Regions from separate parts of the Homo sapiens genome. Here regions 2 and 3 are each linked to region 1. The links are contacts of gene promoters, found by promoter capture Hi-C in blood cells and fetal thymus (Javierre and others, 2016). All regions are on one chromosome and are shown on one strand. Each heading gives the region's core, a stretch centred on a gene start or on the middle of the fragment in contact. The rest is flanking DNA. Distances are from core to core; before and after follow the strand shown. Region 1 holds the start of TMEM204 (transmembrane protein 204). Region 2 overlaps GNPTG (N-acetylglucosamine-1-phosphate transferase subunit gamma). Region 3 overlaps JPT2 (Jupiter microtubule associated homolog 2).

Region 1 (5,047 bases), core at 1,148-3,647:
CCCAAAGCACATGAGCGCCCGGCCCCACCTCCAGGGGCCTAAAGCCGCTGCCCCCGCGAGAGGTTCAGCACAGTAACGGGGCTGCGGCTCCTTCTTCAGCAGAGCAGGCAGAGTCTGGAAGAAGGGCGCCTGGCCGGAGTCACGCGGAGACCCAAGCCTCGGGCTTCCCATAAGACACCGAGTTCTGAGAGCCGGTGGAAGCTTTGAAGTTATTCATAGGCTTTGATCTTTTTAAAAGACGGCTGTTGGTCCCTGCTGGTGAAGGATGCGAGAGGAAGTGCGCAGTCCAGGCTGTGCGGTGCAGCCGAGGGCCTTTGAGTGGACAAGGGGGTTGAATTCCCTCGTGGGACCTTGTCCAAGCCACATGCCTTCTGCAAAGCCTCAGTTTCTTTGCCTGTGAAGTGGGGATGACATTCCCCGCTGAGGGTTCTGAGCGCGGCAGGTTGGGGATGGAGCTGTGTGGTTGAGGCACACGTGATGTGTGTTACCCCAGTACTCCGGGACTCCCTCGGAAGCCTGGAGCAGAGGCACTGCCTCAGAGACCAGCATTATCTTCAGAGCAGAAGGAGCGTCCAACCCCGAGTCTGTGAGGCTCTGCAGCAGAGACTTGGGGTGTCTGCGAGTCAAAACCTTGCTGACAGTTTCAGAGAGTCGGCCTTTGGGAGACCTTGTGTCCCTGTGCCGTGACTGTTGAGATGACCCCATGGGCTGTAAGCGCCTTCCTATTTATGCAGCCTCACACCTGCCACTCAAACCCCACGGTGCGGTGGCATCATTCTGAGCCCCTTCCTCTCCTCTGCAACCACTGAGCATCCCTGTCCCCTTCCGAGCGTCCTGGCCTCCCTGTCTCCTTTCCAGCGTCCCATCTGAAGCTCATCCCTGGGGATCCTGCTGCTGCTCTCTGCCTCAAAGACCCCAACAACCGTGAGAACAAAGCCAGAACTCACCCGTGTATTTTTAAACTTCTTGTTTATTTTACTCATGAGTAAAGAAAGAGCATTTTCATTTTTTTTTTATGTTCAGAGACAGGGTCTCTCGCTATGTAGGCTAGGTTCGTCTTGAACTCTTGGCCTCAAGCAGTCCTCCCGCCTCAGCCTCCCAAAGCGCTAGGATTACAGACGTGAACCACTGCGCCCAGCCGTAATAATTATTTTCAACCAAGGAAAAATGCCTTTCCTTGATTTGATTAATGTACCCATCTCTTAACTATGTGTAACGGCAGAGAGGCCCCCCAAATGCCTGAGATGAATTCCTGTGTAAAAGAGCTGGAGGCAGATTCTGTGCTGAGCAGGAGGAGTGTGTGGGGCCACCACTCACCAGGGAGAGGGGGCCTTGGGGCCTGGTTCCCTGGGAGACACAGTGCCCCCTCCTGCCTGCCCAGAGGCCACGCTCAGGGCAGAGCAGGGGCCAGGCCTCCCCACCCGCTCACCAGGTCCGCGCCTAACATCTCCCATGTGCCCTCGAGCCTCGGCCACGCTGAAGGCATCAGGAAAACAATTGGACTTACGTTTGACGGTGCCTCGGGACTCCTGGAAGCCGGCTGCCTCGGAGCCCCAGCCCAGCGCCTCACAGTCATGTGCGTCCACCTGGCCGGCTCTGGCCCCAGGGCTCGGCCCTCCCCGGGTCCTGTCCACCAGCCAGCAGGACCTCCACAGCCCCACGCTGCGCCTGCGCCCATCCTCCAGCGTCTGGCACACCCAGTTGGAGGTGAAGGCCGCCACGTTGTTGAGGATGAGTGAGACCAGGGCCACCAGCACGGCCGCGGCCACGAGTCTCTGCACGGTCATCGCTGACGCCGGTGCCGCCGCTTATCCGGAGAAAGCCAAGTCCCAGTCCGCGGCCGCACGTCCAGGGAGAGCCGACGCTGCTAGGGGTGGCTAGAGGACATCACCACTCATCCTCGGGGCGGCGCGGGCGGAGGCCCATGGGATGGTCCAGGTGTGCCGCCTCTCGGCCCGGCCTTATCCTCCTTCCTGCACCTGGAGCAGGGCCAGGCCTGTGCTGAAGCTGCTCGCCTCGGGGCCCATCCCAGGGAGCAGAGGGTGGGCAGCAGCAAGAACCCAGGGCCAGGAGTGCGCCGTCTTCCCGGGAAGCGGAGGCCGGCCTGTGCCGCGCGTGCCTCTTCTCGCCTGCAGCAGTGGAAAACAGAGTCACTCGGGAGGCCGGCAGCAGTGGGAGTCGAGCCCGCGCCACACTCCTTAGCACCGGCCTGCTGTGAGTGCCAGGCTCCGGGCAGGGTGGCCGGTGTGGAGCGGGTTCACAGCTCCTCTGTGCTGCCTGGGCCCCTGTGTGGATGCCTCCAGGGCAGTTGGCCGGTCCTGGAAAGCAGAGTGGCTGCTGCAGGGACGCCCGTGTGCGCAGAGCTCGCCTTCCCTGGCTCTCAGCAGAGAGGAAATGGTTGTTTTTGAGACTGTTTTTGGTGAGCTGGAAGGCGTAGCCAACCGCAACAAATAGCGGCCCTGCCGCGGCAGCCAGACACCAACAGGATGTGCTTCCTGATGGGAAAGGCCAGGAGACTTCTGAGGCCCTGCTCCAGGCCCACCTCCTGCCGCCCCTCCCCATCTTCCTGTCCCAGAGGAGAGGCCAGGGATGCCGGGTGCGGGACAGATCCCTCGTCTCGCCTGTTGCTTTTAAGCCTGGTGGCCCCCGGGGCCTGGAGGCTGGTACTGAGCGACTATTGCCTGCCCTGGGGACTTCACACCCCCCAGCCATCCAGTTGCCCCCAGGACCATAGGTACCCCCAGGACCATAGGAACCACAAGCCTCCCCCCGCCCGTGTGTTCCAGGCCTGCCCCCGCCACGGGAATGCTGCCCTCAAAAGGGGGGCAGATATCACAGGATTGCTGGGAAGGGGAGAGACCCGTGTGCCTGGAGGGAGCAAGTTCACCCAGACCTGCAGGGCCAGGGACCTGTACTTGGAGGACCTCGGGGCCAGGGACCTGTACTTGGAGGGCCTTGGGGCCAGGGACCTGTACTTGGAGGACCTCGGGGCCAGGGACCTGTACTTGGAGGACCTCGAGGCCAGGTCATTCTTAGGTGGCAAGAAGGGTAAGATTCTGGATGTGCTGGGTGGGGCTCTCAGCGGGGCCTGGGACAGAGCGAATGTCACGTGGGGCCTGGGCCACCTCTGCTATTGATGGGAACGGTCACCCCCCACAGCTGGGGACAGGACTAGGCAGGTCACCTTGTGAGTGGTCAGGCTCTCGGGCAGAGCTTATGCTGCCAGGGAGCTCAGAAGCATCTTCGTCTATTCTGCTCAGAATTATTCTGCCCAGCTGGGCAGACACCACGAGAGGGTCTCCTACTCTGTCCCATCTCCAGAGACCCGAAACCCAGCATGGGATTCCCAGCCTACCCAGGCTCCAAAGCTTCGTGAATGCAGGTGTCCCACATCCGTGCAAACTGTTCATGGGCACACGCCCAAGACAGTGCTGGGACAGAGAGTCCTGTTCCCAGCCTGTGGTAACAGCAGAGCTTTGACCGTTTCCTGTCCTTGCACTGCCCGTGCTTGGGCCCTGGCTCAGGGCGGTCCCGAGAGCTGCCACTTCCTGGGACCAGTCTCCATTCACACGTTGGCATGTGGCTCTGTATATCCACAGGTGAAGCAAGGTTCCCCACACACGCCCTGTGTCTGTTCCAGAAAGGCAGCAGCTCCGTCCTCACCAGCCCGTGGTGCGTGCTGGGTCCTGAGAAGCGTTTCTCCACTGGCTTCCTGAGGGACGTGCCTGGGGGGGATTTTCCCCGGGGATTTGTCGCAGACGTGTCCGTCAGGTTTCTCCTTTCCCCTCTTCCTTGGCTTGTGCCCAGGGAAAAGCTGCTGTTTCTATTTCTGTTCTCAGCCCCCGGAACCTGACGGGGCGTGCGGGGCACAGTGGTGCTGCCGGCCCCCACTCTCCCGGGTGGCTCGGAAGGCCCTGGGGGGATGTCCCCAGCCCTTCCTGCCTGTGCCCTGCTCCTCGGAGGTGGACGGGGGTGCAGTGTCTCAAACACTCAGTGTTCCTAAGCACACGGTGCAGAAGGGGGCCTTGAAAGGGAAGTCTCCCAAAAGTTTCCATGGGGGAAGAATTTATTTCCTCCTTAATTAACTAAACCATTAATCTTTCGGGAGTCTTCAAATGGCTAACTTCCAACAAAAAGCCAATGCTGGGTTTCAGAGCCCAGAGGACACGTTTGATTGTCTCAGCGGCCCGCTCTGGTCCTTTCCTCAGGTTGAGTGGGGAGGAGGCCACGGCCAGACTCCTACACAGCGGCAGCACCCCCAGAAGTCCTGGTTCGCAGAGGCCAGCATCGGCCTCCACTCTCCTGGCACTTCTGGGGTGCTCCAGGTCCCTGTGCCCTCAGCTGTCACGCCGCTTCTAACCCTGCGCGCTATGGCAGGCTGGGCGCGGGAGGGCGGAAGGCCTGGGAGCAGCATGTAAGTTAAGAGCGACCCTCCTGGGAGGATCTGTGGCTCTCGGGGGGTGACTCCCAGTAAGGGGACTCGCAGCTGGGCGGTGGGCTTCCCCCACAGTGCATCACACCCTCCTGCTCTCCCTGTTGCTTGGGGTCTTGGTCACGGTGGAGTCCCACTGCCCCCTCCCACATATGTGCCTGCGGCTCCCATATACCCAGCAGAGCGGGAGCCCTAGCACAGAACAGGGACACGGAGGGAGGGGGCGGCCTCGGCAAGCATGATCGTCAAGCCGCTGTTCGCCAGCCACCCTCATCCTGACACAGAGTGGTCTCGGCAGAGCTTCTGCAGGACCTTTGAAGGCTGCGTCCCCTGCCGCCCATCTGCTTCTTGTTCCAGTGCCTCGGGGCTGATGAAGTGCAGATGTGGGTGACTCCACAGACTGGCCGGGACAACAGGAAATTCTCAAGACTTGGATGGGAACTAAGAGGGTGTTTACTTCTTGGAATTTATGTCAGATGCACAAACCCCAGAACCCCACACCGGAGTGGAGGCTGTCCCGAGAGCCCTGGCCGGCCGTCGCGGAGAGGATGTGGGAATCACGCGGGGCTGGTGCCCTCGAGCAGGAGGCTGGCTGTGGAAGGAGCTTGCAGAGAG
Region 2 (5,047 bases), core at 2,548-5,047, 170 kb after region 1:
CTCGCTGCAGAGTCAGCTGCGCCTGGACCTGGAGGCGGTGGACGGCGTGAGTCCTGCTCTGGGCAGGGTGAGGGGCCAGCCTGCCTGCAGGGCTGCTGTCCCTGTCTGGGGAGGGCCCTGGCTGGTGCGGTGTCCCCTTCCTCCCCTGCCCCAGGGTCTGCTCCGGGCCTAGGGAGGAGGAGACGGTGCCCCACCCCAGCACAGCCCCCTGTGGCCTCCTTGCCTGTCTCCCTGGGAGCCGCCTTTCCTGTCAGGCTGGCCCTTGCCCTTTCACCCCTCCCTCTTGTCAGCGAATGCCACACTGCTCCCCGTGGCCCCATCCCTCCCTGTTCACAGCTGTGACCCTCACACATGACCCCTCCACTTCGGCGTGCCCCTCCTCACCTCGCCTGCTAAGGGTGGGCTCTTGGACTCGCTGCTATAGGACAGAGGGTCCTGCGTAGCCCACATCCTGGGCACCCAGCTGCCCTCAGGGGCCTGGCCTGTCTGGCCACTGCCGTGTCTGTGGTGGCCCCAGGAGGCTGTCCTCTGCCCAGGGCTCTTAAGACAGAGCATACCCCCTGACCCCGCAGCTGCCTTCTCCCTGAGGTGGCCCTGGCTGGGGCGTCTCCCTGACCCTGTCTCTGTAGCTGGTGGCCGGGCGGCCTGAGATGCTGAGTCCTGCCCGGAAGGCCCTCCGGCTCCCCAGCTGGCCCAGCCTGGGCAGGGGCCTCCTGAGCCCGTCATTGTTCTGGCCCTGCAGGTGATCTTCCAGCTCCGCGCCAAGCAGTGTGTGGCCTGCCGGGAGCGGGCCCACGGTGCTGTCCTGCGGCCCTGTCAGCACCACATCCTCTGTGAGCCGTGTGCGGCCACCGCACCTGAGTGCCCCTACTGCAAGGGCCAGCCCCTGCAGTGGTGACCTCAGCGGGGACAGCCACCTCCTGCTGGGCACCCTGGCTCCAGCGCTCCTCCTGACCACGGACATGTCGTCACTCGCTTCTGGTGCCACCGACGTGAGGACCGAGGCTGGGAGCCCTTCCTGTTACACGTTATCATGAGGCTGGGAGCCCCGCCTGCGCTTGGCCTGACAGCCTTTCCTGTCACACGTTGTCACCTATCTAGTCCTACCGACGGTTTCAAGGTATTTTCCTCAAAAACCTTAAATGCAAACCCACAGAACCCGCCTGCCTGTCCCTGAGGGGCCTGGTGCCTCCGGGATCCACGCGGCGCTGTGATCACAGCAGTTTGTGGTCCTGACACTACTGTGACTAGGCCACTGGGAGCTGGGGTCTTTCAAAGCACTTTGTAAACCGAGGAATTTAGTTAGAGGTTATAAATTGCTCTAAGCTGCTTTCTGTTTTTTTTTAATATGCGATAATATGAAGCTTTATATGTGTACTGTGAACTTAAATATTTCATATCAGTTTATTGTCAATTCATAGTATGCTAAATATATTAGATTTCATATTCTGAAACTAGTACTTATGAAATGAGTGTTTATCTAGTAGTAAGACCTAGGATTTTTACATTTTCCAATTAAGTGCAAATAGTATTTATAAGCAGAGTGATTATGGATTGAGATGTTTTTAACTTGATGGAAGGAGCTAGTTTTCCTGAGCCTGTGTGTGCACCAGGCACTGGGGCTGATGTTCCAGCCTCGTGGCGTGGGAGCAGGAGAGCTCCGTCCTGCATTTCTGTGGTCCGTGGCCGCTGTTTCTGTGCGCCTGCGCCTCGGAGAGCAAGTGAAGGAGCATCATGGGTTTTGTTTTCTCCCTTAACCCTCTGAAAGACAGTTTGATACTAACAAAAAACGCAGCAGAGGGGATCCGACGTCAGAGCTTTTAGAATTACTTTTTTAAGCAGCTGTCTTCTGGCTGGGTGCGGTGGCTCATGCCTGTGATCCCAGCACTTTGGGAGGCGGGTGGATCACCTAAGGTCAGGAGTTCAAGACCAGCCTGGCCAACATGGTGCAACCCCGTCTTAGTAAAAATACAAAAATTGGCCTGGCGTGAGAGCGGGCACCTGTAGTCCCAGCTACTCGGGAGGCTGAGGCAGGAGAATCGCTTGAACCTGGGAGGCAGAGGTTGCAGTGAGCCGAGATCGCGCCACCGCACTCCAGCCCGGGTGACAGAGCGAGACTCTGGCTCAAAAAAAAAAAAAAAAAGCTGTTTTCTGATTACTCAGAGCTGTCCTAGGCAATGGTGCTTTGTAGCTCCTTGGAGATGTCGCTGGGCGTCCTGGCAGGGGTCAGGCAGTGAACTGGGAGAGTGGTTGCCTCCCCAGCACCCGTGACCACCCTGGTCCTGCTCGTGTGGGAGATGCTCGGGCCGTGTGTGCGCCAGGGTCCGGGGTGCCGGGTGTATGTGGCAGTCACCTGACCCGCGCTGCCAGTTATCATCGGAGCTCATCCATGTGGCCAGTGAGGTCACAGGAGAGGACCCGGCCACAGCCTCTCAGTGGCCTGGAGCACACGGGGGAAGCGACCCCCCCCAGGTCCCGGCTCTGCTGTGGTCCCCTGTCCCGTCTGCCCCTGGAGCGACAGTGTGGTTTCGGCCGCAGCAGAAACGTGACTGAGAACGCATCCCCGCGATGACCTGACCCTTCTGCTCAGGGCTGGGACTGTCCCTAGGAGTTGAGCAGGAACAGGCATCTGTGGTTTACGGCGACCTGGCTCTCCGCGGGCCACGTGGGTGGTGAGGGCACACGAGTGGGAAGCGGCACCGACGTGTTTCTCCCCGACCGTGGCTTTGCCAAAGACTTTTAATAGCATTTTTTAAGTGCAAAACGTCTAGGTAAAAATCTTTATCATCAGTGACCAAATTAGAATGTATTTAATATAGTAGGTGGTTTAAGAACTGTTTTAACGTAAGACAAACTGATAGCAACATTCTGTTGTTTTAAAGGAAGTGGGTCCGTGACATTCTGCAGCTAGTCCACTACTCCAAGGTAACTATCGACTTGGTTTCAGTGAATCTATTTTGTTTTTAACTACAGTGATTTATTAGCTCAGTATCTAGAAATTACGTATATTTTGTGCTACTGTCATCGATGTGTAAACTCTGTTTTTATTTGTATTTATGCACTTGGTTCCCATTTGGAGCCTCTGGTCTTTTCTGGGATAAGTGGTGTCTGCCGAGACATCTCCCGGTTGTCAGTGGTCAGGAGCAGCTGAGCTCTAGTCTGCCAGCTGCTCTGCTCTTTCTGGGAAGGAGGTGGCGCCCGCCCCTCAGGGTGTCTCCAGGGCTCAGCTTCCGGGGTGGTAGAGCTGGGGAGCCCCAGGGGTGGGGGGACAGCTGGGAGATGGAGGTGGCACCTGCTCCCCTAGATCAGTACTGGCTCTGAGGACAGGTGAGCAGTGGGAAGACCAAAGAATGGCTGGCAGCGCTGCCAGGGTTGGAAATGGGGGCAAGATCCTGGGGCTGTGTGCCCTGGGGCCTCCCTCACCTGTCTTGGTGGCCATGGCCTCAGGGATGGCTCCTAGGTGGCTGAGGCACAGCAGTGGCTGGAAGGTGCCCCGTGGAGGCTGAGGTGGAGGCGCGCCCAGCAGCTCCCCCCTGTGGCCATGGCGGGCACGGGGCGTAGGAGCTGGCTGGCGGCCGGCTCTGCATGTTCTTGTTGCCTGTCGTCTGTAACTCTAGTGTTCGACATTCGCCGTGATACAGTGGTGTCACGACGTGTGTAACTGTGGTCAGCAGACCTTGTTCCGCGTGGACGCCTCAAGTGGATTAATTTCTGGAAGCCTCAATCTGTATGTTTGAGTATTTACATGAGAATGTTATTTGAATGGAATTTTCTTAACCCAGAAGGTAGTATTTATAATCATTTACTTGTAGCGAACTGTTTAAAGTTAACACTTGTTTAAATTTTTTTACACTATAGCATTTATGCAATGGTTTACAGAATTCATGGAGTTATTTTTATCAGTATGGGAATTAATTAAAACCTTGAATCTTTGTTTTGTCTGCTTCTCTGAGCACAAGCCTGGTCAGCTGGTCCCTGCGGGTCCTACCAGCCAGCTTCTCTGTAGGGCTCTCGGCCGCGTCCACCTCTGCTCTCCCACCACAAGGTCACAAACTCCCACGCAGTCCTGGGTCACCCCGCAGCTGCTCTGGAGACTTGGCTCTGGGCGTCTCGTGGCCCAAGTGCTCCAAGTTGGAAGTTTCTGCCAAAACACCAGGTGGCCAGTCCTCACCTGGACCCACAGGTGGCGAGTGTGATGGTGAGCCTGGCCCTCTCCCCACAGGTGACTCACCTGTGGGCCTCGTGTAGGGGATGCCGTGCTGGGTGAGCAAACCTTTCAGCCTTTTGATCTCCTTTGAGAGTTCTTTATGAGCCTACCAACCACAAAAAGAGTTCAAGGGAAAGCCCAGGTGCTGGAGGGCTACTGCGTGCCACCACCTCCCCCCAATACGGTACCTTCCTGCAGTTTTCCAGGGTCTCAAACCCCAAGCTGTCAGGACCTCCCTCCAGCTGGGTGGGTTCATTTTCTTCTGGGGTCTTTAAGTAGCCAGCATCCTCAAAAAGTGTCCTCAGCAACTTCTCATGGCCCTGAAGGTGGAGGATGCAGGGGCAGCACCCAGCTCCCAGCCAGGCCCACCAGGGGCCACCCCGAGCGCACGCTTACCTGGGGGGTGATCAGCTCATCGGCCAGGTCCTGCTCTACCTGGTCCCACTGCCGCTGCAGGGCCTCTGGCAGGGTTGGGTACACTGAGGACCCAAGAGAAGCCAGGCTCAGCTGCACCCCATGTCCCAACCCTGGCCCCCAGCACTACAGGGCCTCCAGCAGGGCTGCGTGCGCGGCTGACCCCACTGGGCTCAACTGCGTCCCGCACCCCTACCTAGCAAGGCGTGGGGGTGGCAGACGAGGGGGGTCTCGAACGTCAGCGCGTAGACGCAGGTGCTCGGCTCGGACACATGGGCCAGCCGGTTGCTTTTTCCACACGCCAGCTCCACCTGGGGAGGGAACGTGGGTAGGTGGGTTGGGGAGACTGGGGCCCCTCTTCCCGGGCTCCCGTCTGAGGCCCCACCTTGCTCTGCCGGCTCCGGGAACGGCAGGCGTCACCGTCCC
Region 3 (5,047 bases), core at 910-3,409, 150 kb before region 1:
TTCAAGACTACTCAAGTCACCTTCAAGAGAGAAAGTACAAATCAGAACGTTTTCATTTTGGAAGAACTCTGATAACAAGTGATTACCTGAACCAGACAATATGGGAAAGGATCAGTATAAAGAAACAGAAAATATTTTCAAAAGAGAATCGTGGAGGCCAAAGGATTAAGGATTTCCAAAGGCCCATACCTGGGGGATTTGTCCTCTTGGGTATGTTCTGAGGTTCTTCTGTTGGTCCAAAAATATTAGATGCCATCCTATTAGGCCTGCTGGAAGGAGTAGCTTCTTCTGGACTTCCAAAAAGATTGCTCGATTCTCCTCCTGGGGGCTTCATGGCCCTACAAGCACAGAGTACATGCCAATTACTGATGGCAGACCTGAAAGCTTGTCACTGTGCAAGGATTTTGGCACAACTAGACAGGGTAAAAGTATTTTGTTTTTTTCTTTTTGAGACAAGGTCTCATTCTGTCACCCAGGCTGGAGCGCAGTGACGTGATTTTGGCTCACTGCAACCTCTGCCTCCTGGGCTCAAGTGATCCTCCCACCTCAGCCTCCTGAGTAGCTGGGATTACAGGCACCCACCACCACAGCTGGCTAATTTTTTGTATTTTTGGTAGAGACAGGGTTTTGCCATGTTGCCAAAGTTGGTCTTGAACCCCTAAGCTCAAGTGATCTGCCCACCTTGGCGTCCCAAAGTGCTGTGATTACAGGTATGAGCCACCATACCCAGCAAAAGTATTTTCTTAACATCTACTGAGAAATCACATACCACCATTAGTTAATACTGGTATGACTAGTTTACAGACGCCAGACTACTTCTGCTGCTCTTTAGTTTCCCTTAAAAGTATTCTTTTTTTTTTTTTTTTGAGATGGAGTCTCGCTCTGTCGCCCAGGCTGGAGTGCAGTGGCACGATCTCAGCTCACTGCAACCTCTGCCTCCTGGGTTCAAGTGATTCTCCAGCCTCAGTCTCCTGAGTAGCTCAGATTACAGGTGCCTGCCACAACACCTGGCTAACTTTTGTTTGTTTTTTTTGAGACGGAGTTTTACTCTTGTTGCCCAGGCTGGAGGAATGCAATGGCGCAATCTCAGCTCACCACAACCTCCGCCTCCTGGGTTCAAGCAATTCTTCTGCCTCAGCCTCCCACGTAGCTAGGATTACAGGTATGCGCCACCACACCCAGCTAATTTTGTATTTTTAGTAGAGACGGGGTTTCGCCATGTTGGTCAGGTTGGTCTCGAACTCCTGACCTGGGGTGATCCACCTGCCTCGGCCTCCCAAAGTGCTGGGATTACAGGTGTGGGCCATCGCACCTGGCTCTTGAATCACTTTTTATTGTAAAAACTTAAACTTAAGAACTAATAAGGAATTGCCACAAAGCTCTATTTCTAGAGCACTATCTACATTAAAAACCGGTGAAACGCTGAATTCATAACAACTGGAAAAACTTTTAAATGCATTTGAGAGAGAGGCTTACTGAAATTGAGATTTAAACCAGTGAGTGGCACATGCTCTCTCACTAGTCCTAAGCAATGGGACTGTCTGTGATCCCAGACGTTTAGAAACGAAGTCAGCCCTCTGTATCCACGGGCTCTGCTTCCATGGATTCAACCAACCTCAGATCAAAATGTCAGAAATAAAAGGATGGTTGCATCTGTACTGAACATCTACAGACTTCTTTTCTGTCATTATTCCCCAGGTGATACGGTGTAACAACTATGTGCATAGTATTAGGTATTATATGTAACCTTGTAACCTAGAGATGATTTAAAAGCATATGGAGGATGTGCATAGGTTATATGCAAACATTACACCACTTTATATCAAGGACTTACACATCCTTGGATTTTGGCATCCTGGGGGTCCTGGAACCAACTCCCGCAGGATACCAAGGATGACCATACTTGAAATTACAGGGCTCAACATCACACAAAAACTATGATATGAGGTTAGATCTCACTGGAAAGCTTTGCAAACACTGACCACTCAAGGTTTGGTTAACAAAAATAACAGTTTCTCCTCAAAAGATCTAGAAAGAGCGCTGAGGGCTCCTTGTGACTGGATGTGAATGGAGTTCTCAGATCTCCTGCTATAAAGCAGGAAGGCAGAGAGTGCTTCAGTCTCCGCCTGCAGAGACCCACGGGCTGGCTACTGTACCCCAGAAACCAAGCGTGTGCTGGCCGACCTCTGAAGTGGTGCCCAGGGCCCCTGTCCACTCAGGAGGCTGGGGGAGGTGGATGCCAAACTTCCTGTCAGCAGTTGCCATTTCCTGGAGGATTTGAGGAGGGAGAAAAAAAAAGACAGGTGCACTTAAGAAAAATTATTTTTTAAAAATAACCAATAACCAAGCTTAAATGAGAAAGGGCTGTCCGGGAGCAGTACCTGGCACCTGTAATCCCAGCACCTTGGGAGGCCGAGGTGGGAGGACTGTTTGAGCCCAGGAGTTCGAGACACGCCTGGGCATATGGGGAGACCCTGTCTCTACAAAAAATACAAAAATAAGGCCAGGCGTGGTGGCTCACGCCTGTAATCCCAGCACCTTGGGAGGCCGAGGTGGGCGGATCACGAGGTCAGGAGATCGAGACCATCCTGGCTAACACGGTGAAATCCCGTCTCTACTAAAAATACAAAAAATTAGCCGGGCGTGGTGGCGGACGCCTGTAGTCCCAGCTACTCAGGAGGCTGGGGCAGGAGAATGGCGTGAACCCGGGAGGCGGAGCTTGCAGTGAACCAAGATGCGCCACTGCATTCCAGCCTGGGTGACAGAGCGAGATTCCGTCTCAAAAAAACAAACAAACAAACAAAAAATTAGCTGGGTGTGGTGGTATGCGCCTGTTGTCCCAGTTATTCGGGAGGCTAAGGCTGGCTTGAGCCCAGGAGGTCAAAGCTGCAGTGAACCATGATTGCATCACTGTACACCAGCCTGGACGAAAGAGTGAGGACTTGTTTCACCAAAAGGAAAAAAAATAAAGGGTGGTGGGTGGGAGGGCGTGGCTTAACAAGATTTTAGGTGAGGTGCTCTTAGAGTGGCCATAAGGCCATCTGACTTCCATATCCATTTTTGAATCACGCAGCCCTCCTAATTCTACATTTTTTTTTTTTTTTGAGACGAAATCTCGCTCTTGTTGCCCAGGCCAGAGTGCAATGGCACAATCTCGGCTCACTGCAATCTCCACCTCCTGGGTTCAGGCGATTCTCCTGCCTCAGGCTCCTGAGTAGCTGGGATTACAGATGCCCGCCACCATGCCCAGCTAATTTTTCTATTTTTAGTAGAGACGGGGTTTCACCATGTTGGCCAGGCTGGTCTTGAACTTCTGACCTCAGGTGATCCGCCCACCTCAGCCTCCCAAAGTGCTGGGATTACAGGCATGAGCCACTGTGTCCGGCCTATTTTATTTTTTTGAGATGGAGTCTCACTCTGTTACCAGGCTGGAATACAGTGACGCGATCTCAGCTCACCGCAACCTCCACCTCCCAGGTTCAAGCAATTCTCCCGCCTCAGCCTTCCGAGTAGCTGGGATTACAGGTGTGCGTCACCGTGCTTGGCTATTTTTTTGTATTTTTAGTACAGACGGGGTTTCACCACGTCGGCCAGGCTGGTCTCAAACTCCTGACCTCAAGTGATCCGCCCGCCTCGGCCTCCCAAAGTGCTGGGATTACAGGCGTGAGCCACTGTGCCCAGCCAATTCTGCGATTTTTCTTGGATAGTGTAGCAGGTCTAAACATGCACGGGTCTCTACAGTTCTCTCTTTGGAAATAAGGGATGAAGGCCTGCAATCTTTCGAACTGAACTGAATTTATCAAGTCTTATGTGAGCTGAGCATGAGCTATAATTCCTTTTACTGACTTATTTCAAATATGGCTTTTCTCTCAAGCCCTCAAGGTGCTACAAACTGTCAGATCTGATTCCAGGTAGACTCGCCTTGACTGCAAGCTCTGTAGGACTCTTTCCCGACCCCACATTCCCTACATTCACAGTCTCCTGTCTCCTCTGCCTTTCACCCTTGCTTCAGTTCAACTTGCACATCTCTCGAGCACCTATCATTGGCAATCCTTCCCCAGACGCCGTAGATAGAGGAAAGCAAGTCCTTACCCCGGAGGAGCTTCAAGTTTAAACAGGAAAGCTAGAGCTCTGCACAGGTGGTTTCAGTGTCTGTGTGAGTGACGTGACAGACGCCTAGTGCCATCGGGACTCCAAAATTTGGAAGAGGTGAAACCCAAATTGAGTCTGTGGCCTCCATGTGGAATGGGGACCAATGGGCGCAGGAGGTGAGTGGTAGTTACTTGCAATGACCAGTGTTACTTTGGGGTGATGGAAACACAATATTTAATATTGTTCTATGTGCTTTTCTGAATTTTATTTGAAAACAAGCAAAGAAAAAAAAGTGGTACCAAAGACGGTTTTAGCAGAAATTATGGCGCACACAGGCCCAGCCCCAGGCAAGGGGCAGCGGCTATCTCGGTCACAAAGGCAACAGGTCCCACTGCAGGTTTCACACAGACCGCAGGGCTGGGCTGCCTCAAAGGGGTCTCGGATGAATGGAACTGAGCGTTCAATAGACCTTTCAACAAAAACAGCCCGACAACAATGGCGCAGTGTGGCTTTCTCTAGGCTACAGGCACTTACCACTATGACACTAATAGGGGGAGGGGGAACGCTAGAGCTCACACATTTGGGGACAAATTCACAATGTGAGTGGGGGGTGCTTCCCAATTATTTTTTGCCTTTTGTGGTACCCCTTCCATATATTTCAGTGAAGATATTCAAAACACACAAGAGAAACTCAAGCGCACAGGAGAAGAAAAACCTCACACAGCTGGAGTGGACTGCAGCACTGGAGAGGTAGGGAAAAGCTGTGTGACCCTCCTCGGGGGTCTCCATGCTCCTGACCCTCTCTAATAGTTTGTCCCCGAGTTTCAGAAAGGATGAGGGGACTGGTCAGGCTTAGAGAGAAGCAGTGAGAAATAAACTTGGATTAAATTCCTTACAAATAGAAATGTTCCAGCTTGAAGGAAGACCTCAGGTTAATCGCGGCTAAAGCATAACG

What was found. The method cuts DNA at HindIII sites, captures the fragments that hold promoters and counts their contacts. A CHiCAGO score of 5 or more calls a contact.
Region 2: a contact is called between a fragment that was not itself captured here and the fragment with the promoter of TMEM204 in region 1, in 2 of 17 cell types (naive B cells and total B cells). The highest score is 5.8, in naive B cells.
Region 3: a fragment that was not itself captured here is called in contact with the fragment with the promoter of TMEM204 in region 1 in 1 of 17 cell types (endothelial precursors); the score reaches 5.5 in endothelial precursors.

Annotation. Positions count from the first base shown.
Region 1 is chr16:1,531,016-1,536,062 of GRCh38, reverse strand. TMEM204 (transmembrane protein 204) reads right to left here and starts at 2,397. Exons shown (of 3, transcript NM_024600.6): 1 at 1,508-2,397. The coding sequence starts at 1,787. The region is part of intron 19 of IFT140 (intraflagellar transport 140); the gene reads left to right. RefSeq lists enhancers at 1,664-2,367, 2,368-3,071. The HindIII fragment of the contact is 3,167 bases long and covers 204-3,370 here.
Region 2 is chr16:1,362,091-1,367,137 of GRCh38, reverse strand. GNPTG (N-acetylglucosamine-1-phosphate transferase subunit gamma) reads right to left here. Exons shown (of 11, transcript NM_032520.5): 6 at 5,007-5,047; 7 at 4,818-4,932; 8 at 4,604-4,686; 9 at 4,396-4,527; 10 at 4,232-4,313; 11 at 3,025-4,141. The coding sequence ends at 4,047. It overlaps UNKL (unk like zinc finger), which reads left to right. Exons shown (of 15, transcript NM_001372107.1): 14 at 1-46; 15 at 743-3,933. The coding sequence ends at 898. Among named protein-coding and RNA genes, the nearest start is that of GNPTG, 13 kb to the right of the region's middle. The HindIII fragment of the contact is 4,861 bases long and covers 1,367-5,047 here.
Region 3 is chr16:1,680,730-1,685,776 of GRCh38, reverse strand. It overlaps JPT2 (Jupiter microtubule associated homolog 2), which reads right to left. Exons shown (of 5, transcript NM_144570.3): 2 at 190-338. Among named protein-coding and RNA genes, the nearest start is that of JPT2, 5.0 kb to the right of the region's middle. The HindIII fragment of the contact is 382 bases long and covers 1,969-2,350 here.